7 separate regions of the Homo sapiens genome follow, and all the other regions are linked to region 2. Evidence: promoter capture Hi-C in 16 types of primary human blood cells and fetal thymus (Javierre and others, 2016). All regions are on one chromosome and are shown on one strand. Each heading gives the region's core, a stretch centred on a gene start or on the middle of the fragment in contact. The rest is flanking DNA. Distances are from core to core; before and after follow the strand shown.

Region 1 (2,757 bases), core at 75-2,574, 310 kb after region 2:
TGTGGATTCTTTTTTTTTTTTTTTTTTGACGGAGTCTCACTCTGTCGCCCAGGCTAGAGTACAGTTTGCGTGATCTGGGCTCACTGCAAGCTCCGCCTTCCGGTTTCAAGTGATTCTCCTGCCTCAGCCTCCCAAGCAGCTGGGATTACAGGAGTGCACCACCACGTCTGGCTAATTTTTTTTTCCTTTTTTTTTTTTGTATTTTTAATAGAGATAGGGTTTCACTCTGTTGGATAGGGTGATCTCAAACTCCTGGCCTTAAGTGATCCCCCACCTTGGCCTCCCAAAGTGCTGGGATTATAGGCGTGAGCCACTGCACCCGGCCCCGAGTGTAGATTCTTATCTACCTGCTAACAACAATCCCAGCATTGAGGCTAAGGGTGAAAGATGGATGGAATGATGAAATATCAGACAGCCAAGGAAAACAAACAAACAAAAAGTCACAGGATCTGGAACTCAGTTTAGAACAATCAATGTAATTTGACAAAATGGCAGGGGTGTAACCAGGGTTGGATTTCGTTCTCTCTAGTTTCTCTTCTCATCCTTCCGTATGATAATTCTGCTAAATCATCATTTGTAATCCTTGCACAAAACCAGGTGAATTTAAAAAGATCACTTAAAGAGTTAAATTCTTCTTAAATTAAAAAGAGTTGGCAGGGCACGGTGGCTCATGCCTGTAATCCCAGCACTTTGGGAGGCTGAGGTGGGTGGATCACGAGGTCAGGAGTTCAAGATCAGCCTGACCAAGATGGTGAAACCCCGTCTCTACTAAAAATACAAAAATTAGGCAGGCGCGGTAGCAGACACCTGTAATCCCAACTACTCGGGAGGCTGAAGCAGGAGACTTGCTTGAACTTGGGGGCAGAGGTTGCAGTGAGCTGAGATCACACCACTGCACTCCAGCCTGGGTGACAGAGTAAGACTCTGTCTCAAAAAAAAAAAAAAAAAAGAGTTAAAGAAAGTTAGTCAAAGGTCATTATAATAAGATACATGAGACTTCAACAAAACTTGCATAAGAATATTTAGCATCCGCTTTGTGAGTATAAATAAAACAAAGTATAGCCAGGTACAGTGGCTTGCAACTGTAATCCCAGCTACATGGTAGGCTGAGGTGGGCAGATCACTTTAGCCCAGGAGTTCAAGACCAGCCTGGGCAGCAGAGTGAGACCCCATATCTAAATATAAATAAATAAATAAATAAATAAATATATATATATGTGTGTGTGTGTGTGTGTGTGTGTGTGTGTATATATATATATATATATATTTTTTTTTTTTTTTAAATTAGCCAGGCATAGTGGAGTACACCTGTAGTCTCAGCTACTTGGGAGGCTGAGGCGGGGGGACTGCTTGAGCCCAGGTATTAGAGGCTGTGGTGAGCTATGCTTGTGCCACTGCACTCCAGCCTGGGTGACTTTTTAAAAAATTAGCCAGGCACAGTGACATGTGTCTATAGTCCTAGTTACTTGAGAGGCTGAGGTGGGAGGACTGCTTGAGCCAAGGAGTTGGAGGCTGCAGTGAGCTATGATCACGCCACTGCGCTCTAGCCTGGGCAACAAAGCAAGACACTGTGTCAAAAAAAAAAAAAGAAAGAACAAAAGGACTAAATCTCCTAAATGTAAAGCATGGAAATCCTTTAGGTTCATTACACATTCTCATACAATCAAAATTCTAACCATAACTCCACTCACACCCTTCAGTGACTCAGAGCAAAATCATCTTAAAAAGTTGGAAAAATCTGGCCAGGTGCAGTAGCAACACAGGGAGACTCCATCTCAACAAAAAAAAAAAAAAAAAAAATTAGCCGAGTGTGGTGGCATGCTACTAGGGAGGCTGAGGCAGGAGGGCTGCTTGAGCCCAGGAGGTTGAGGCTGCAGTGAGCCATGATTGTGCCACTGCGCTCCAGCCTGGGCAATAAAATGAGGCTTTGTCTCAGAAAAAAAGAAAAAAAGTTGGAAAAATCTGAAACTATCAGAATGAGTCTTGATAAGAACAGACTACAGAGGTAGGGAAAAAATGGACTAAATCTCAAGATTTTTGCAATGGCATCATAGGCAGGGTGATATGTTTGCAAGATAGTTACCAGGCTCCCTTGCTATTTGATAATCCCTCAGGGCAGCAAATTCAAGTTCTGAGCTCAAGGTTTGACTCTGCAACTAAGTTAGAATATGATTTTAAGCAAGCTCTTTAATTTCCTAAGCCGATTCCCTTACCCATTAAATAGGGCTGACAAATGTACTATCTGCACTCCAGCTCTGCAGTAAGGATCAAAACCAAAATAAGATGTCTGTGAAAGTATCTGAATGCTTTCGAGTGCTCTACAAATTAAAGCACTATCATTACCATTTCAATGGCAGTGGGAGTGAACACTCCCTGCATGGCTAGCAACAAAATCAGATCTAAGAATGTTATTGTGAATGACAACACTCACAATCCCATCTTCTTGCTTCAAAAAATACCCAGCTGGCACTGACTGTACATAGGTCCCAAAGAACACCCAGGGAGGAGTATGCATGGGAATTAACATAATTATGGGGCCTCTAGTATGCGAATGACTAAGTCCCACAGAAAGAAACTGGATGATTATCAATATCACTTTCCACAGCTAAAAGTGTTACACGCTGAAAGTGTAACAAAATATTGTCAAAGAGAAAGATGCCGACTGCCATGAAGTTAAGTGTAAGGTGCTAGAATCCCGAGGTCATCTTTTTATGCTCTTTACTGGTGCAGTTCCAAAGTTCTATAATTTTTTGTTGT
Region 2 (3,030 bases), core at 40-2,539:
GGCACAAAAGTGAGACATCAGCTTCTCATTAGAGTCTACCAGGAAAAATGCCTGAAAGAAATGCTAGGAGAAGCATCCTTCCTTCTTACTCTCCATGCTCTGATTTACCTATCCCTTCTGTCTGTGAGTGAGGCCCAGAGGATGTGGTTCAGAGTCCCTCCCTGGTGGCTGAAGGAGGAGAGGCCCACCATGTCTGGATGGACATCAAGAGTCCCAGACGGAGGGAAGCAGACCTGGTTTCCACGTGGAGCTGGAGGGATGCCACGAAGCCATGATGGAGCCCTGAGCAAGAAGGCATTGGACATTGCTCTTTTTCATAGCTCCCTCAAGCTTGCCAGTGTCTCCACAGTGACTCCTAAATGCCAGGATTCCAATTTACCTCTTAACAGACAGATCAGTGTATCTGGCTAATGGGCACTCCCTCACTAATGGACTGGGGTTATGGAGGGGAGGGCTGTGGTGTAACAGTTTCATAGGTGAAACCCAGGGAGCCTCACTCCTCTCCCAGGTCATATCATTATGCCTACTCCCCCAACAGATGCTTTCCTTCCCCCACTACTTACTTCCAACAGCACCCCTCTTACCTCCAGGACCTTCAGTACCTAGAAGGCTTTGCCACTAGGGCCTGAGGTCTGGGCCTCTAGCAGGGGCATGGTCAAGTTACAGGATGCAAGATGTGCATAAGTGCCCAGCCCAAGGCCACAGAGGTATTGGGATTCACATGCACCTGTTTTCCAGATCCAGAGCTTCCATCCCAAAGACCTGAGCCTGGCCTTCCTTCAGACAAGAGCGTGCCCCTCCTAAGCTAGGGAAGATTTCCAGGGAGCTACAACACCTCTCCTCAGCAGAGTTGCCCACGCCCAGGACACAGTTGCCCATCAGCCTGTATGCTGAAGGGCCCATTCCTAGAATGTGGGAGACCCATGTCCATGACATGGAGCAAGACAGATGGAGAATGCTGTTTGTCTGCAGGATGTGGGTACTCCTGCCGGCAGGAGATGATCAACCCCCCAGCTCTGGGCTTCAGAGATGCCCACACCCCAATACCGCCTTTGGGATACCTGAGAGCCCATCTCCTGATCAAACTGCTCACCGGAATGTAGGCAGGGCTGGTCCTTGGAAAGCCACCCTTCTGTGGGGATACCTTGGCACTCACCACCAGGCTCTGGGTCTGGCCCCCATTCCTGGCCTAGTCGGCAACTCCTACCTTTGCTGAGCAGTCCCGGCTCCCATGTGATAGCTCCTCTCAGCTGATGCTTCTCCAAGGCTGCTGAAGCCTGAAGCACTGCAGTGAGCGGTGAGAGGCAGCCGGCAAAGCAGAGTGCTCCGAGAGCCTCTGGGTCCTAATGGCCTCCTGCTTCCCACCCAGCCCCTCAGAGTCACTTCTGGAGCAAAAAGGTGGGCACCAATGCCCCAGGCAAGGTGCCTGGCAGTGAGCTCAACTCCTCTCACTTCTCTCAGGCTGCTGGATTGCGTCTCAAAAATTTCGTGGGGCCAGGAAATGATAGGTAGGGGAGACCCTCTTGACCAGCCTGATGAAGTAAAAAAAAAAGTACATGGAGTCAGAAAATCCAGGTTTAAGGCCTGGCTATGGCACTTACTAGCCGTGTGACCTTGGGCAAGTTGCATTTTGGCCTTGATTTCTTAGCAGTTCAAAGAGAAGATAGGAGAGATGCATGGTTCTGTGTGACATCAGAACCAAGGTGCTGATGCAGGCAGGTCAGCGCAGACCCAGGGCCCCAAGGCTTAGGCCAGGGAGGCGGCTGAGGCTCCAGGGGATGGTCCAAGGTTTGGCCCCTTTGGAAGCTGCCTAATGCGTATGGGGGACAGGTTTAGGAGCAGCACTCAGGTTTGAAGGGCAGCTGAAGGCTTTGTCTTAACCCTGCCCTTGCCTCCCAAAAGCACATTATTATTATTTGCTTAGATTGTATGTTTATTGGAACTGGGGCTGTGAGGGCTGATGGAGATTGGCAGGGAGGGGGCGGGAGGATCTAACATCCCCCCGAGCCACCATGGGAACCACCACAACACTGCTTCCTGAAGGAGACAGAGTGGGGGCCAGGGACTCAGGAATGCTCACACTGATCTGGATTTGTGGGACTGGACAGAGCTAGGTAGCATCAGCCACTGAGCATCGCCCATCTGTGGCATGATGGGCCTTCAGAGACGCAATGAAGGGGCATGGCCTCCCTCTAGCTATGAAGAAAATGATCATTTACCCGGGTACATGACTGATACCCAAGGATAGAATCCTAACATTGCAAAGCTGTAGGACATCCTACAGGCCAAGGTATCCATGTTTCTGAGACCCAGAGAGATAAAGAGATTGCTCAAAGCCACATAGCTCCACATGGCAGAGCCATGAGTCTAAACAGGGAATTCAGGCATGATCCCCTACTCCAGAGCCTGCTTCCCTGAGACTTGCCTATCTAGGGACTCCTTCTGCCTCTAAGAAGGAAAAAGGGAATTCTGGAATTGTTTACCAGACCCAACCCAAAGAGCCATAAGAACAATGAGTTACCCAAGGACCTCACTGGGACAAGTTGGCTGCCCCAAGCCCCAGGTCAAAAACAAAGAGGCCACTGACAAACCAAGAGCCGATGCAGCAAGTGCCGCTGTCACCAGCCACCACTTTTTGAGCTGTTATGAGTGCCAGGCCCTTTACATACAGTTTCTTTGATCCCCACACCAATCTATGAGGCAGCCATGACTTGCCCTATTTTATAAGTGAGGAACCGGGTGCTGGAGGAGAAGTGACTTTCCCCAAATCACACAGCTAATAAGTGCAAGAGCTGATATTTGAACCCAGATCTGTTTGAAGTCCAAGTATTTCCTCCTCCTTCTCCCTTCGTTCCGTGGCCTCTCCAGTGGCCTGACACAAGACTGTGGACTACAGCCCTAAAAGCTATCTTCATAGAAGTAGTCACTGCCTTCCAGAAAGCCTAAAACAGACCTCAAAATTAGGCATACCTGCGTACAAGAAATTCAAATGGAAATACCAAATTGAAAACCTGTAGACAGCAAAGTGAT
Region 3 (2,913 bases), core at 331-2,830, 500 kb before region 2:
GAGGACGCAGACCAGGGAAGTGCAGCCAGAGGAGACACAGCACATACAGGTGTCCAGTAGAGGCAAGAACAGTGGAAAAACCACAGTGGGAGTCAAGACGGGGGCCAAACCATCAACTACTTCTTGCTCCAGTCCCTCAAAAGCACCACGTGCTGAGCACTCACCATACACTGGACCAGAGCTGGGGACAAAGTATCCTCGCTGTGGAGGCATGATTCTGACTGGCTGATCAGAGATCATTTCCAGCAGCCCTGCTCCTCCAAGGACTGTGCTGCTGCAAGCATGCACCTTGAGGGCCCTCAGGAGTCACAGGGACCTCTGTCGTCCTCACCTTGTGCTCTCGGCGGCCCCGTTTCTGCTGCTGCTCAATCAAGTCTGAAGCAGATGCTGGTGGAGAGGCTGCTCTCATGTTGCGAATCACTTTGATGCTGTCCTCAGGAAGCGGGGGGAGGCCCAGGATGCTGCGCTTCTCAGCCTTCATGCTCTGCAGCTCCTCAAAGCCGCCTAGCGTGCACTGCATCACAGACAGGGAAGCAGAGCCAGGGTCAATGTGTCCACAGGCTGGCCCCTGACCATTGTGTCAGGCTCAGAAACATTCATGACATCATGACCCATGTCTTTATAGAGACCCAGGCAACTCCTGAACAATGGACTGAAGCCACTCCCAAGGAGAATTCCGTGACATCCGCAAGGGAAAGGAGAAAAAGGAACAAGGAAAGAGTGGAGATGCAGGCTGACTGACCCTAGTGCAGATACACTAACTCTGCACCTATGACATACTCTTCAATTTAAAAAGAAGCAAAGAGCCTAACCCTGCAAGTTCCTAGAAAAGTTGGTGAGACTCATGTTTCACAAGTTGTACATGCAAGTCTTTCAAAGTCAAATTAGAAATACTGTTGGTTGCTCAACTTTAGAAGAAGAAAAAAAGCTTCATCTAAACATCTCCCAAGAAGCAGAAACGCCAGCAACATCCAGCTTTAGACTGCTTAGTTTTACTGTTTCTGAGCAATTCAGCTTTCCTCTCTAGCCTTAGCAAGGCTTTATGAAGAACAGAATGTGTGGCCAAGATAAAATGTGTCAATGACTTTTAAGAAATCCTATACTTACTGAGCCCTGGCTCCAGAGTTGACCCATTCTGAAAGGAAGGATGAGCCCCAGTGTAGCAGAGGCCCAACTCACCTCCACCGCCTCCCCATGTCACTCCTCCTGGGAAGGCCTCCTGGCATGGCCTGGCTGCTAACAACGCTCCAAGCCCAGTGTGCTGGACGGCCCACTCTGGCACCCAGTCCCTCCCTACCTAGACACAGAGTCGGGCTGACACCATACCCTGAAGAAAATGGAGGCTGGCTCAGGGCTCACTCTTGCCCCTTTAAGTGATATCCAACCAGGGCCCCAATTACATCAGCTGTAACTTTGCCTCAAATCCCTTTACAAACTCCAGGTCCAGAGCTGCTTGCTGAGAGGCAACTTGTCTGGGGGAGAGCTGTTCTATGACAGAAAACAGCTTCCGGGGTCAGAGAGCCAACAGCCTACTCTGACTCAAGGCCTATGTCCTCGTTGGCTGCAATGGGACAATAGTGGCCCTTCTTTTGTCATCTCCTTTTAGCAGCTTTTTAAATAATTTTTTTTACCAAAGCAGTTTTACAGTCACATAATTCAATATTCAAAAGGATATTCAAGGAACAGTCTCCCTACTGCCCATCCCATAGCACCGTTCTCCTCCTCCAAGGAGGTGCTCACCAATACTGTCTTCCAGAGCAGCAAGAGAACTTTCTTCATGGGAAAGTGAGGGGCGTGACCACTGCAAAATTTGGTCACCATCCCAAACAGCATGATGGCAAATGGCTCATTGTTGTACAGCGGGGAGCCTGGAGGTGACACAAAGGTATCAGGACCCTCCCAAAGCCTTCCGCCTCAGCTTCCAGGCAGGGCCTCTAGAGAGGATCCCCAGGGTCCTACCCAGCTCGGCTCTGAAGGTCTGCCGCATGGTCCTCCACTCAGCCTTGTCACCCTCACACTCCTGATGAACGGTCTCCACTATCAGGTACATGATGTTGAGCAGGACCCTGAGGACAAGAGCCAGCTCACAATGGAGTGGGATGGGGGGGTCAAAGGAGCACCCTAGTGTCTAACAAAGTGCTTACACAAAGCAGGGGCTTACTATTAATAAATGGTATCTGAATAAATGAGTATGAACAAGAATGGCCAAAAGCATTTACCACCCTAAGCTTCCTGAAAAGAAAAAAACCACAGAGGTGGTAGCGAGCTGTAGGGTCAAAGCAGAACAGGGTCACAGTGAGAACAAAAACAGGGTTTATGATGAGGAAATGGAAAGCAGGAGCTGAGAGGTGACGCCCAGGGATCCTAACACCCGGGAGGCAACACTACAACCACCTAGTCTAAAAACTTCCAAATTCATAAAAAGAGCCAGATTTCAACCCTCAAAAACTGAGGGGTGATCTTGGTGGTCAGCAGTTGCTGTGAGCTCCTGGGCAGCCATGAAACATTAGGAAGCTGTCAGGTCTAACCCAATGAAGATGAGCATCAAGCTGTGTACACAAGAAGGTGGGAGTCCAGGGAACACCATCAAGTGTTTCATCCAAATACAAAATACCCCACGACCAGGTCCTGAGTAACAGTGTGAGTAGGAGGCCACACTTAGCTGTGGCTCTAGTAAGTCACTTGACCCTGGATTGCCTTTGGGAGTCTCAACCCAGAGTCCCACCTAGGACGAGCCCTCAGCAGTTCCTACTAATCATTCACACTGAGCCCATCACACATGCAGATGATGTGTACAGAAGCACACACAGCAATGACACCCACAGACAGCCTCCCACACCCTGCTCTGATCTCATCTCTGACTAACGCTCAGGAGCCCAGGCTTGCTGCTCGCCTCACCTGAGGTCTGTGCTG
Region 4 (2,753 bases), core at 87-2,586, 480 kb before region 2:
CCTTAATATTTTCACGTACAGTGATCAAATCCCTTATCCCTAACTAATCTGCCATTGCCATTCATCCCCTGCATAGATGCATTCCCCACGCCACTTGGGATCTGACTCCTTGTACCAAGCTACATCCCCAGTTCCCACAAGGATACCACCCACACTCACAGGCTGCAAATCCACATGAATCCCTAGCTTGCTCTGTCTTACCTAATGGCCAAATTGTGGGTAAAGGAAAAAGGGAAGGAATTTGGATCTTGTTGGAATTTTACGTAAACACCACAAAGGAAGAGATCATCTGATTTAAACTGATGTATCCCCAGTATCTAAAACAGACTTTGGCATATATGAGGTAATAGTTAGGTCCTTTTTGCCCTTCTACCTTCTGCTATATGAGGATGCATAAGAGGTACCATCTTGGAAGCAGGCAGCAGCCCTCTTCAGACACCAAATCTGCCAACGACTTGACCTTGGACTTCCCAGCCTCCAACTGTGAGAATATCAATTTCTGTTCTTTATAAATTACTCAGTCTCAGGATTTTGCTGGAGCAGCAGAAACTGACCAAGATAAATACTTTCTTACATCAGAAGACACTGGCCAGTAATCCCAGCACTTTGGGAGGCAGAGGCAGGAGGATCACTTGAGCCCAGGAGTTTGAGATCAGCCTAGATTTCATGGCGAAACCCCATCTCTACCAAAAATACAAACAATTAGCTGACACTGTGGTCCCAGCTACTTGGGAGGTTGAGGTGGGAGGATCACTTGAGCCCGGAAGGCAGAAGTTGCAGTGAGCTGAGATCAAGCCACTGCACTCCAACCTGGGTGACAGTGAGACCTTGTCTCAAAAAAATAAAGAGAAAAAAAAAAAAAAAAGACACTGAGACCACTTCAGAAATGGATACAGGTGTGGGAGGAGGCTGAAGCTTACATAACTTTGGGGGCATTCTTCAGAAATTAGGTCTTAGAAGGACTATGCAAATGAGGAACCCTGAGGCTTAAGCAGCAAGTCTGCTTCCTGAAGGAAGTTAGGAGTGAAAGTACCCAGGCCCGGTGCTTGGCACAGAGCAGGCATACAAAACTTCAGGTATTACTTTGAAGAATCCTGTATCCAGCCTCTATATATTAGGCCCTCAACAAATCTCTATTAAATGCTACTGACCTATAACTTGTCACACCCTAGAAAACAGGTTCTAATGAAGTTTTGCTGTTTAACAAAGAATGACACATACGGACTGCCAATAAGGTCTTATCATTTTAATCGATTTTAATGATTATTGCTCATCTGCAAGGATTAATATTGCATTCATTAAAAATCATTCAATACAAAATGAACTTGTTCTTCCCAAGTTGCTCTCCACATGCTCCCTCTGATGCCAGACTTTTTTTTTTTTTTAACAGTGTCCTTTGTTACATGGCTTGACAGAGACAGAGCCCTTACCTATTATTCCTATGGACACGGTAATAGATATGGGATCAAGGGGCAGGTCAGAGGGCAGGTGAATGTGGGTCCCTTCCCTCCAGCAGGGCTAACGTGATGGATACACTGTTGGCCAGGTTACCTCCCCTAACAGATGTGGTGTTCTGATTGGTTGGTTAAGTGCCCGAGGAAAATAGGCCTTAACTGTTAACATCTACAGAGAAGAAAGCATGGTCACACTGGCAAGGAGTAAGAAGGGATTGGGTAAAAGAAAATGGGAGAGAAAAGGGAAAAAAGTTTTGGCAAGACAATTGTTCCCTGCTAAGAAGCTGCAGGGTGAAAGCTTTCCTTTCTTCTATTTTTGTTTTTAATGTCTGTCTCTCTGATCAGTGGAAAAGTGAAAATTTCTAGTATCTAGCACTAACGTATGACCCAACTTTGAGGGATCACAAGCTAGAACAAGTTGAGGATTTAAAATCCTGGATAATTATATACTTAAAGCTCATGAGCATAAAGCTCACTTGACCATGCAGAAATGCTGGGAAGCAGGGTGCATGGCATGGGAATACATCTCCCTGATCTTTGAGAGAGCCTCTCTGGATATTCTTTCAGAGCATGAGCCAGGATGTACTGACTACTTTCTTCACACATCAGTTGCCCTTTATGATCTCAGTTCATAAACTCTTTGTGGTATGTAGCAATCAAAAGTCATATTACTTCTGTAAAACTAACATTATATAGGGTGTATAGTCCCAGACAAATTATATGAAGCTAGATTTTTCTTGCCCTGGCCCAATTTATCATTCCTCCTCCTGCCCACACCTACCTCCCTTTAAATATTTTAGGTTGCAGAAGCACAGCTGACCAGAAATTTGCTCTTAAAGATAAATCCTAAAGATAGAACTCAGTGCTTTATACTGAGTAATGGCTCAAGAAATTCGCCTTCAGCACAAGCTGTATGGTACACAGCTGATAGAATTTGCTGTTGTGGCTCCAGTTCACTGATGCTATGAACTACGGGCTAGAAACAGAGGGACTTAACAGGGCTTGAGACTAGCATTTCTCTAGACTCAGCATCCTTAGCTCCAAAGGTTCAAAAGAGAAATTGGTAACAACTAACCACTCAAGCAATTCCTCAGCATTAACACCAAAAATTCTCCTTAATTTTTCTTTTCTTTTTTTTTTTTTTTGGACAACAGAAATAAATCCTAGAGGACAAAATTAAACTCAATAGAGTGTAGTCTAGTTAAAAACTCGAAAAATGAGCAAGTCTGGTGGGAGTGGAGGAAGGGCTATACTATAAATCCAAGTGGGCCTCCTGATCTTAACAAGCCATGCTCATTA
Region 5 (3,039 bases), core at 239-2,738, 420 kb before region 2:
CAATCTGAGAGATTCCTCAGCCACGTCTAGTGTGCTAATGAGCCCATCAAAGGCATTCTTCCTTTTTGTTGCAGTGTTTTTTTATCTTTAGCATTATTAAAATTCTTTCTTAGAATCTCCATCCCTCTGCTTACCCATTTGTTCTTGTATGTCGTCTACTATTTCCATTACAGGCCTTAATATATTAATCATAGTTGTTTTAAAATCCTGGTCTGATAATTCCAACATCCCTGCTATACCTGAGCTTGGTTATAATGCTTGCTCTGTCTTTTTAAACTATGTTTTTTGACTTTCAGTATGTCTTACACTTTTTTTTGTTGCACACCAGATACAATGTACTGGGTAAAAGGAACTCTGGCAAACAGTCCTTAGTGGTGTGGAGTTAAGACGTAGGGAGAGGATAAGCATTCTATATAATGAGGTCTCAGTTTTTTAGTAAGCCTGTGCCCCTGGGCTGTAAACTTCACAGTGCTTCTCAATATCCACCTCAACTTGCAATGTGGGACACGATGGCTGCAGTGGGCTGGAGTTGGGTATTTCTCTTCCCCCCAGTTGGTTTTAGGCGCTGATAAAACCCCATTAGGTTAGGCTCTGGTAAAATCGTTTCCCTTGAAGGCAGACCTTGTCCAGAAGAACAGAATGCTCTGGCATATTTCAAAATGGTTACTTTTCCCTAGAAGTATAAAGGGATTTTTCTCTAGTACTCTCTGTGAGAACCTGGTAGAGCTCATGGAGCTAAACCTCACAAAAAACTTGTGAGGCCTCCCTCTGACTGGGACCCCCTGGAGTTTTTATTTCTCAGACTTGTCCACAATGGAGCCTCTAGCAATTTATCAATTACAGTTTAAGTTGTTCTACCCTAATACTGGTTCCCACAGAAGTTTCTGCTCATGGGTTTCTGCCTTGGTTAAGTTGTAATTCTCTGTATCTGTCTCTCTAATTTTAGAGGCAGTGATTTGTCCCGTGACCTCACTTCTCTGAAGGATCTAAGAAGAGCTGTTGATTTTTCAGTTGTTCTTAAAATTTTTTAAATAAAAGAATGAGGAGTTATAAATGAGGAACAGAGTATAAGGAATAATAAAATTTTTCCAAATGTTAGCAAGTTATCTCCACATGGTTATCATCAACGCATCAAATTCAATATATTCAGAATCCCTTTAATTGACTTTGCCTCTTAGGTTCTGGATTTTCAGTCTGGTGCCACCTTTCTGTTGGTCATTCATGTTTGAAACTTTGGGTCATCTTTGACCATTCTCTCTATCTAAAGATTTCTCAATTACCATGTCATGTGTGCTATGCAATTGTAACTTAGTTGTACATCCGTTTTCCTGTCTTTTTCCCCCTGCCCTCCCCTAGTCCATCACCACTTGTCAGGACTTTTGAAATTGCTTCCTAATACTTCCCTGTCTTAAGAGTCAACTTTGGTGGCAGATCAACCTGAGATTAAATCCTAGCTCTGCCACGTATAGCTCTTTGATCTTTGGTATAAAATACTTAACCTCTTTGAACCTTGGGCAGTGCTATAGTTTCAGTATTGGTCCCCTCCAAAACTCGTGTTGAAATTTAACCCCCACTGTGGCAGTATTGAGAGGTAGGGCCTTTAAGAGGTGATTGGATCTTGAAGGCAGAACTGTCAGGTGTGTGGTGGGGCCTGCAAGTAGTTGCCTGCAGCTCCTCTGCCCTCTTCATTTCACCTACTTTTTTTTTTTTTCGGTGGGGTCTTACTCTGTCGCCCAGGCTGGAGTGCAGTGGCGTGATCTTGGCTCACTGCAACCTCCACCTCTGGGTTCAAGCGATTCTCCTGTCTCAGCCTCCCGAGTGGCTGGGATTACAGGAGGCTGCCACTATGCCTAGCTGATTTTTGTATTTTTAGTAGAGATGGGGTTTCATCATGTTGGCCAGGCTGGTCTCAAACTCCTGACCTCCGGTGATCCACCTGCCTTGGCCTCCCAAAGTGCTGGGATTACAGGTGTGAGCCACCGTGCCTGGCCATTTCACCGACTTTGTGAACTTTTCTTCTCCATTTCCCCCCATCTGTTTGCCAGAGGGGTGGGACTGGAAACAGAACAGCTGTGGCTGCTTTGTCTCTCCCCTCCGTGGTGACTTATGGCCTGAGTGGTGACTTACAGGAACCTGGCCACCTAGGTGCTATGCGCCCTCTTAACCTTTGAACTGGAACTGCTGGCTCACACAAGGTTTTGAACAGCTGCAGCAAAAATCCTACAGAAAAGCTGGATTCCTTTGCCTTATGTGGAAACAGCAAGGCCCTGCCAGGTGCTCACCACTGGTCCTGGCAGAAGTGGCTGCTGCTGAGAGTGACCTTCCAAATCCTTGGTGGAACTCAGCACTACAGGCTCTTAAATAAAAACCCTTTAGACACAGAAAAAAGAAAAAAAAAAAACAAAAAAAACTCTCAAACATTTGATGTGAACAGTGCCCTCATTTGTGTATTAATTCATTCATGGATTAATGGATTAAATGGTTAATTAATTAGTTAATTAGCTTGCTCAGCCTCTCACCATGGGGTGCCCCGAACTACCTGGGGACTCCCTACCAGCAAGAAGACTCGCCAGATGCAGCCCCTCAGCCTGGGACTTCTTAGCCTCCATCACTGTAAGAAATAAACTTCTTTAGAAGTTAGTCAGTTTCAGGTATTCTGTTATAAGCAATAGCAAACAGACCAATATAGACATCACCTATAAAACTGAGGTAATAATACTCAATTTACAGGATGATTGTGAGGGTTGGAATACATTATGGGCCAGACACTGAGTCTTAAATGCATTAATTATTACTTTCATTAAATGAGAAAATGTATGCAAAGAGTTTGGCATGGTGCTGGGTACATAGTAACTACTCAATCATTGCTGGCTGCTTTATATTGTTATTCTTCAACCCAGTCCAATTTAGGAACTGCTGGCATATTAACTTGCCTAATAAGCATTTTTTATTATGTTTATCACTTGCTCAAAATCTTCTTTGGCTCCCTTTTGCCTGTTTCAGTAAGTCCAAACTCCTTGCCACGCATTCAAAGCTCTA
Region 6 (3,187 bases), core at 118-2,617, 440 kb before region 2:
TCTTTGTAAAGGTTCTCTGGTCTACTGCTAACTGGGTGCCAGGTGTATGGAAAATCAAGATGTGGTTGGCAGTAAATGATGAGAAAGCAATAAGGATCCCAATTCCACCACTCGGAGAGCTAGTCAGACTAAAATCTCCAAAGGTTGCCATTTATGAGAGAATTCGAAGGGTGTCCTTTGAGTCAACCTACAGCACAATAGATCAAACTTGTTCTGCCTCAAAAGTACAGTCAAGAGTGAGCAATCTTCCCTTACCACCCACTACTCCAACCCACCCAAGCTCCTTTCTCCAGGGATGCCTAAGTGATCTATTCACATGACTCTAGGATCCACCTGTATCCATGACAGTGTCTGCTGTCACCAACCTCCAAATGTCAATTTCTTACATATTTCGAAGTAATTGGAATGCTGTAGAAAGTGAAAATCATAGATTTTCAGTTTCATGTTACCCTCATCGCTTTCACCTGTATATCAGAGCTAGCTTCACGCATTCTTTTCTCTTGCCTCCCAGCTATCACGCAGTTGTTGGATAAAGCGGCCACTGCTCCCAAAGATTTGATGGAAGTTCTGCCAGATTTACCCACTCACCTGAAGGGAGATTTTCTGTACACCCCATGCCCCCGGACTGGTCACAAGGGTCAGCTGAGTTGGTTCACCCCCTCCCACTCTCGTCTTCGAGGCCCTTCATCCAGGAAAAGTCAGTCGCAAATTTAAGGCCTGGCCCTGTCGGGTTTCAAAACGATCCCGGAGGACTTGGGCCGAGGGACAAAGGAAAGCGAGGTCAGAGGCGGCCTTTCAGCCCGGGAGAGGCCTGGGGCCGCACAGCCGCCACCCCCTACATCACCTCCGCCGTCCCCAGTCACCCCCAGAAGTCCCAAACTAGCCAGAGCCCGGGCTTGCTCGCGTCCCTTCCGCGAGGCCGGAGCCCGAGCCCCCGCCGCCACCCAGAGCCCCCGCACCTTCTTGGGCGCCTTGGTGACGGTGGCCATGAAGGAGTACTTCTCGGCGTCCTCGATCTCCTTGGCCTGCTTCAGCTCCTCCCCGACCCCGGGCAGCGGCATCGCGTCAGGCATCGACATTCCCCGGCCGGCCCGGCCAGCGGCTGACCCGCCGCCCCCGCCTCTTTCCCCCTCTGGCGCCCGCCCGCCTGCCCGCGCGGCGCCCTCCGACACGCGATCGCCCACCCTCCTGCCGGCCCCTGCGTCGAGCTGCGTCGGCTTCTGAGGTGCTGTGGCCCACGCCTTGTCTGTTCGGCAGCCCAAGGCAGCCGGACAGCGACGGCGGCCACAAGAGAACCAGAACAGCAGCTCCGAGCTCCGACCTGCCCGCGCCGCCACCTCCGCTGTACGCAAACACGCACGCAAAGCGAGGGTAGAGGGCGGTGACGCCACGTCAAGTACTGGCAGCTCCCGGGAGGGGGAAGAGGCGGGGAGAAAGGGCACTCTGTCGTGACGTCACCACGCTGGGCTGGGCCACAGAAGCCGTTCCTCTCCCGCTCGAGAGCGAAGTTCCCAGGGTGAGCAGGACCCTTTGTGCCACCAGGTGGCACCATCAGCCCTGGGAGCAGCGCGAGGTTCATGCAACGATGCTGCGGAACGGAGGGTCTTTGGGCTGCGGGGTTCCTGGCAAGGCCTCAGAGGCGCATGAAAGGGGTGTTTGGGAGCAAAGACCAGAGCCCCACACGACACATCCTACAGCGATTCCTAGGAAATGTCCGGGGCTCGAGACAGCCCACTCACTCACTGGCCCAGCCCCAGGCCCTTTGGATTAAAGCTCCTTCCCAAGGGGCCGTGCCTGTCTTTTTGACTTCATAGGGGGCAGAACTGACTCAGAGTAGTCTGGTTTCTGCACAACGCTTTGTGACTTCCTCCACCACCATCTCCGACTGGGCCTTGCCTGTTTACAAAACCCTCATTGGGATAGGGCTGATGGGTATGAGGGTGGAGACCAGGAGAGCTGATGGAGAAGTCCCCAGCCAGAATGGCCTTCCGGTCCTTGCTCCACCAAAGCATTAGACCCTTCCAGCTCTCAGTGGGCATCCAGGACATTCATGGACTGCTCACACCCTTTTACTGGGCCTACTATGTGCAGTGCCTGTGCTGAGGCCCTGCTGGCAAAAGGACATGTGACGCATTTTATGTTTTGCAAGGCTTAGTTCAGCTGGAGAGGCAAAACCTGCTTGTATCCTAATGTCAGCTGAGGTAGCTTGTCCTTTGAGATTCAAATGACATTGGCTCCAATTACCATGTCCTGTGGAAAGTCCATTACTGGGAGGACTTGGATTTTCATGGTCACCTCTGGCTCTAGTTTTTTTGCCTTGTCTGGCATTTTATTCACTATTCTGGTCTTGTGACTGTTTCTGTAGCTCCTGGGGTCAATTCAGCCGCTTCTCCTTTCAACCCCCACCCCATGCTAAACAACTACAAAATAAGGCTGTAACATGTAGTAAAACTTTTAATAAAGGTTTGTGGGTCACAGGGGAGAGATTACATCACACAGCAAACAATTTAAGAACACATTTCTGAAATGTTCTGAAAAGTTATTTTGGCTGTCTTACCACCCGGGGATTTCTCAATGGCCACAAGATCCCACCACGCTCCCTAGCCCATTGCCATCTAATCTAGCTTCCTCCTGTTCCTCCCTTCCCATCTCTGCACCTCATCCTTCCTTCCTTGATAGACTCTGGGAAGCCAGATTCTCCTCTGCTGTGCTGAGCAATTCCAGTCTTCCCAGTGCCCTTTCCCTAAATTCCTCCCCAGGACCACCTTTTTTTTTTTTTTGAGATGACGTCTCGCTCTGTTGCCCAAGCTGGAGTGCTCTCAGCTCACTGCAACCTCCGCCTGCCGGGTTCAAGTGATTCTCCTGCCTCAGCCTCCTGAGTGAGTAGCTGGGACTATAGGCGTGCGCCACCGTGCCCGGCTAATTTTTGTATTTTTAGTAGAGACGGGGTTTCACCATCTTGGCCAGGCTGGTCTCGGATCCTGACCTCGTGATCCACCTGCCTCGGCCTCCCAAAGTGCTGGGATTACAGGCGTGAGCCACCGCGCCTGGCCAGGACCACCTTTTAACATCCAGAAACCTCCCAGGTTTTTAACAGGGCATACCCTTTCAAGAAGGAAGTTTTGGTTTGAAATGGCATTTTCCCCACTGATTTGTGTTCAGGGCTGGGGAGAGTGTGAAATATTCA
Region 7 (2,977 bases), core at 230-2,729, 460 kb before region 2:
AAAAGTTAATTTGTAGGGCAATACTTTTTTCATCATGTTAATATCCTATTCCCTAATGACTTCACCATCTGTTAATAATCCTTGCCTGAACCAATTATATTGGGAAGGTTATAGAATCGCAACTTCTATTTTTCTATCAATGCTTCCACATTAGCTGGCATTCTTTTGTAAAGAAAAATCTTCTCCCTTTGTCATTCAGATTTTTATGTATTTAACAGATTACACTTAATTATACATTAATTGCACTGAATACTCATATTGTCTCAAATTGGGCCAGTGGGAGCCTCCTTCAAGCTGGCTCTTCTGTCCTTTGACATGATTCCATTACAGTCCTTCCACTCTTTTTGACAAAAGAAGATATACCAGGCTCACCTTGTTCTTCCTCTTCTCCAAACCTGGAATCAACCATTTCTCTCAGGAGCCTTTCTTTTAGAAGGGAGTAGTATTTAGAAGCTAATACCTGGAGTAAGAGGTGTGATAATTGCTATTAGAGATGCACTACTCCTAGGTTCTTTTGGTAGAGAGAGAAATCAATCCTTTTACTTATGAGTTCATATTGATATTTCTACTTCAGATTTAGTATTACCTTTTTTAAAAAAAGTTTAATTTTCCTATTGTATGTCTTGTCTCTAATGTTTGTTTATTCTATAATGCATACAAAAGTTTCAAAATGACAAGACTAATGTTATTACGCACCAAAATTTACTGAGTGACGTGTCAAGGTTTCATTGAAGTTCTTCTCGTCCTCAGAATATATTTCATAAAGATATATAATCAAAGTACTATTTTCTGTGTGACTGAGTAATCAATTTGATATATTAGGTTAAGATTTTATATTTTAGTTGGGTTCATTCCTTTGTGTTTGTAAGAACTTAAAGCTTTCCTTTTTTCTCTTTGATTTTGACATATAAAACATTTACATGTCTCAAAACTTTAAAAGGTACACTCAGAGAAGTTTCACTGCTATTCCTAGCCCTGATACTCTACGTGTCCCTCCCCATTTTCACTGGTTTCTGGTTTATCCTTTTTATGTTTCTTTTTAGGAGTGTGGGAAGCGAATACATATTATTTTCCCTCCCTTACTCAAAAGGTAGCATGATAATATAGTCTGCACCTTGTTTTTTTCACTTGGGAATCATTTTGTATTGGTTCATAGGGTATAAGAACCAACTAGTATAGGCTCAGGGAAATAAAAAGCTGTCAAGGCCGGGTGTGGTGGCTCACGCCTGTAATCCCAGCACTTTGGGAGGTCGAGCAGGGTGGATCACCTAAGGTCAGGAGTTTGAGACCAGCCTGACCAATATGGTGAAACCCATCTCTACTAAAATTACAAAAATTAGCCGGGCATGGTGGCGTGTGCCTGTAGTCCCAGCTACTCAGGAGGCTGAGGCAGGAGAATCGCTTGAACCTGGGAGGCAGAGGTTGCAGTGAGCTGAGATCATGCCACTGCACTCCCGCCTGGGCAACAGAGCGAGACTCCGTCTCAAAAAAAAAAAAAATTAATTTTGTATAGCAAAATATTGGCAAATTTTGTCAATATATATCACTGCTAGAATATCACTGATCTAAATATTTTACAAACCATTTTTGTTGAACTCTTGGCATACAAAGAACAAGCATCACTGGTAACACCACCTGATAGCACTACATGAAGATTTTTACTTAAAGTTGATTGTACAGGAAGTTTGAAATCCCACTTACTAGTAGGGTGGACACCAAGATCCTGAATGCCTAGATTTATATGACTTTAAGTGCTTTGCCTCAACACCTGTGGCTTACAGTTTACAGAGGGTTTGTATTTTCAAAACATTCTAGAATCCTTTCAATGTTGCATCTATGCTTCACAAATGAGAAAACAGAACAGGGGTTGGGGCTAAGTGACTTGCTTAAGGCAATTTGCTACCAACACTGAGGTTTAAAAAGCAAAAAGCAAAAAAAAAAAAGAACAAAAACAAAAAACACCCATAAGCCCAGTTCTATTTTCCTTCTTTTGGAATAGGCTGGGGAAACAGCAGCTTTCCCCTTTATTTCCAAGGGGTCAGTTTACCTTGGAGTGGTCTACTGTTGCACTATAAGCTTTCTGAGCTTATAACACCAGATAAAGATTTGTAAGCACTGGTAAAGGAAAATAATTCTTTAAGTTCCAAAAACCTTTATTAATTTTCAGAAAAGTAAAATGATGCAAAGAAATGTAATGTTTTTACGTTGCCAACAAATTGCCATTGAAAAGTACTGCTCCATAGATCTGGAAAGGGTGAGGAGAGCCCAGTAATAGCAGAGCCCAAACACTGTGGTAACAAAATGTTCCATTCTAGAATACACTTCCATTGTCTTCTGGGGATGGAGTAAGGAGGAGAATGTATGGGCAATCTAATCTAGACTACTTTACTAGGACAAAAGAAATTAATTCAGAATTCCCTATTTGTATGATTTCCACCTGCGTTTAAGCAAAATTTTTAGTTTAGTATGGTCAAATTGGCCACTGATTTTTTCTTTTTCCTCTTTTGGTCACTGGGGAAATTCGCTGGTTATTTCATGAGAAGTTACCATATTCTAAAACATGCAACAGAGAATATACTTTAAATGTGCTTTTTGAAGAGGTTTATCCTGTGCTGAATGGTGCTGGAGGAATATTTCTTTCACACATGAACACTTAGCACAATCAGATAATTTCTTTTAAACTAAAAACATTCCATTAGGTTCCTTTCTCATCTGTGGTGTGCCACTCAAAAAGCACCCTTTCCAAGTCTTATGTCTAAAAGATCTAGCACAGCTGAATTCCACCAACAGAAAAAGAGTTATATTTGGCCAGGTGCAGTGGCTCACATTTATAAACCAAGCCTGGGAGGTCGAGGCTGCAGTGAGCTGTGACTGTGCCAGTGTACTCCAGGGCAACAGAGCAAGACCCTGTCTCCAAAAAATAAAAATAAAAATAAAATAAATGTTGTATTAAATTTGAAGACCTCAGGTTAAAAAA

The links. Contacts are between HindIII fragments. The CHiCAGO score rates a contact against its expected background, and 5 or more counts as called.
Region 1: a contact is called between a fragment that was not itself captured here and the fragment with the promoter of GPR61 in region 2, in 8 of 17 cell types (total CD8 T cells, M2 macrophages, M0 macrophages and 5 more). The highest score is 7.0, in total CD8 T cells.
Region 3: a fragment that was not itself captured here is called in contact with the fragment with the promoter of GPR61 in region 2 in 1 of 17 cell types (total B cells); the score reaches 6.0 in total B cells.
Region 4: a contact is called between a fragment that was not itself captured here and the fragment with the promoter of GPR61 in region 2, in 9 of 17 cell types (erythroblasts, M0 macrophages, M1 macrophages and 6 more). The highest score is 8.2, in erythroblasts.
Region 5: a contact is called between a fragment that was not itself captured here and the fragment with the promoter of GPR61 in region 2, in 5 of 17 cell types (M2 macrophages, activated CD4 T cells, monocytes and 2 more). The highest score is 6.3, in M2 macrophages.
Region 6: a contact is called between the fragment with the promoter of AHCYL1 here and the fragment with the promoter of GPR61 in region 2, in 17 of 17 cell types (naive CD4 T cells, erythroblasts, total CD4 T cells and 14 more). The highest score is 14.6, in naive CD4 T cells.
Region 7: a fragment that was not itself captured here is called in contact with the fragment with the promoter of GPR61 in region 2 in 17 of 17 cell types (erythroblasts, neutrophils, M1 macrophages and 14 more); the score reaches 12.4 in erythroblasts.

Annotation. Positions count from the first base shown.
Region 1 is chr1:109,225,188-109,227,944 of GRCh38, reverse strand. All of the region lies in intron 2 of SARS1 (seryl-tRNA synthetase 1), which reads right to left. Among named protein-coding and RNA genes, the nearest start is that of SARS1, 13 kb to the right of the region's middle. RefSeq lists enhancers at 1,202-1,886, 1,887-2,571. The HindIII fragment of the contact is 7,808 bases long and covers 1-2,757 here.
Region 2 is chr1:109,538,131-109,541,160 of GRCh38, reverse strand. GPR61 (G protein-coupled receptor 61) reads right to left here and starts at 1,289. Exons shown (of 2, transcript NM_001393907.1): 1 at 1,208-1,289. RefSeq lists enhancers at 775-1,274, 1,275-1,776. The HindIII fragment of the contact is 3,019 bases long and covers 333-3,030 here.
Region 3 is chr1:110,040,689-110,043,601 of GRCh38, reverse strand. STRIP1 (striatin interacting protein 1) reads right to left here. Exons shown (of 21, transcript NM_033088.4): 6 at 2,899-2,913; 7 at 1,960-2,066; 8 at 1,741-1,868; 9 at 332-514. Among named protein-coding and RNA genes, the nearest start is that of STRIP1, 7.5 kb to the right of the region's middle. The HindIII fragment of the contact is 1,300 bases long and covers 931-2,230 here.
Region 4 is chr1:110,022,221-110,024,973 of GRCh38, reverse strand. AHCYL1 (adenosylhomocysteinase like 1) reads right to left here. Exons shown (of 17, transcript NM_006621.7): 17 at 1,232-2,753. Among named protein-coding and RNA genes, the nearest start is that of STRIP1, 11 kb to the left of the region's middle. The HindIII fragment of the contact is 837 bases long and covers 918-1,754 here.
Region 5 is chr1:109,960,796-109,963,834 of GRCh38, reverse strand. No RefSeq gene overlaps it. Among named protein-coding and RNA genes, the nearest start is that of AHCYL1, 22 kb to the left of the region's middle. RefSeq lists an enhancer at 2,875-3,039. The HindIII fragment of the contact is 7,765 bases long and covers 1-3,039 here.
Region 6 is chr1:109,982,945-109,986,131 of GRCh38, reverse strand. AHCYL1 (adenosylhomocysteinase like 1) reads right to left here and starts at 1,367. Exons shown (of 17, transcript NM_006621.7): 1 at 960-1,367. The coding sequence starts at 1,079. RefSeq lists silencers at 822-891, 1,072-1,141. The HindIII fragment of the contact is 11,948 bases long and covers 1-3,187 here.
Region 7 is chr1:109,999,713-110,002,689 of GRCh38, reverse strand. The region is part of intron 1 of AHCYL1 (adenosylhomocysteinase like 1); the gene reads right to left. Among named protein-coding and RNA genes, the nearest start is that of AHCYL1, 16 kb to the right of the region's middle. The HindIII fragment of the contact is 1,198 bases long and covers 881-2,078 here.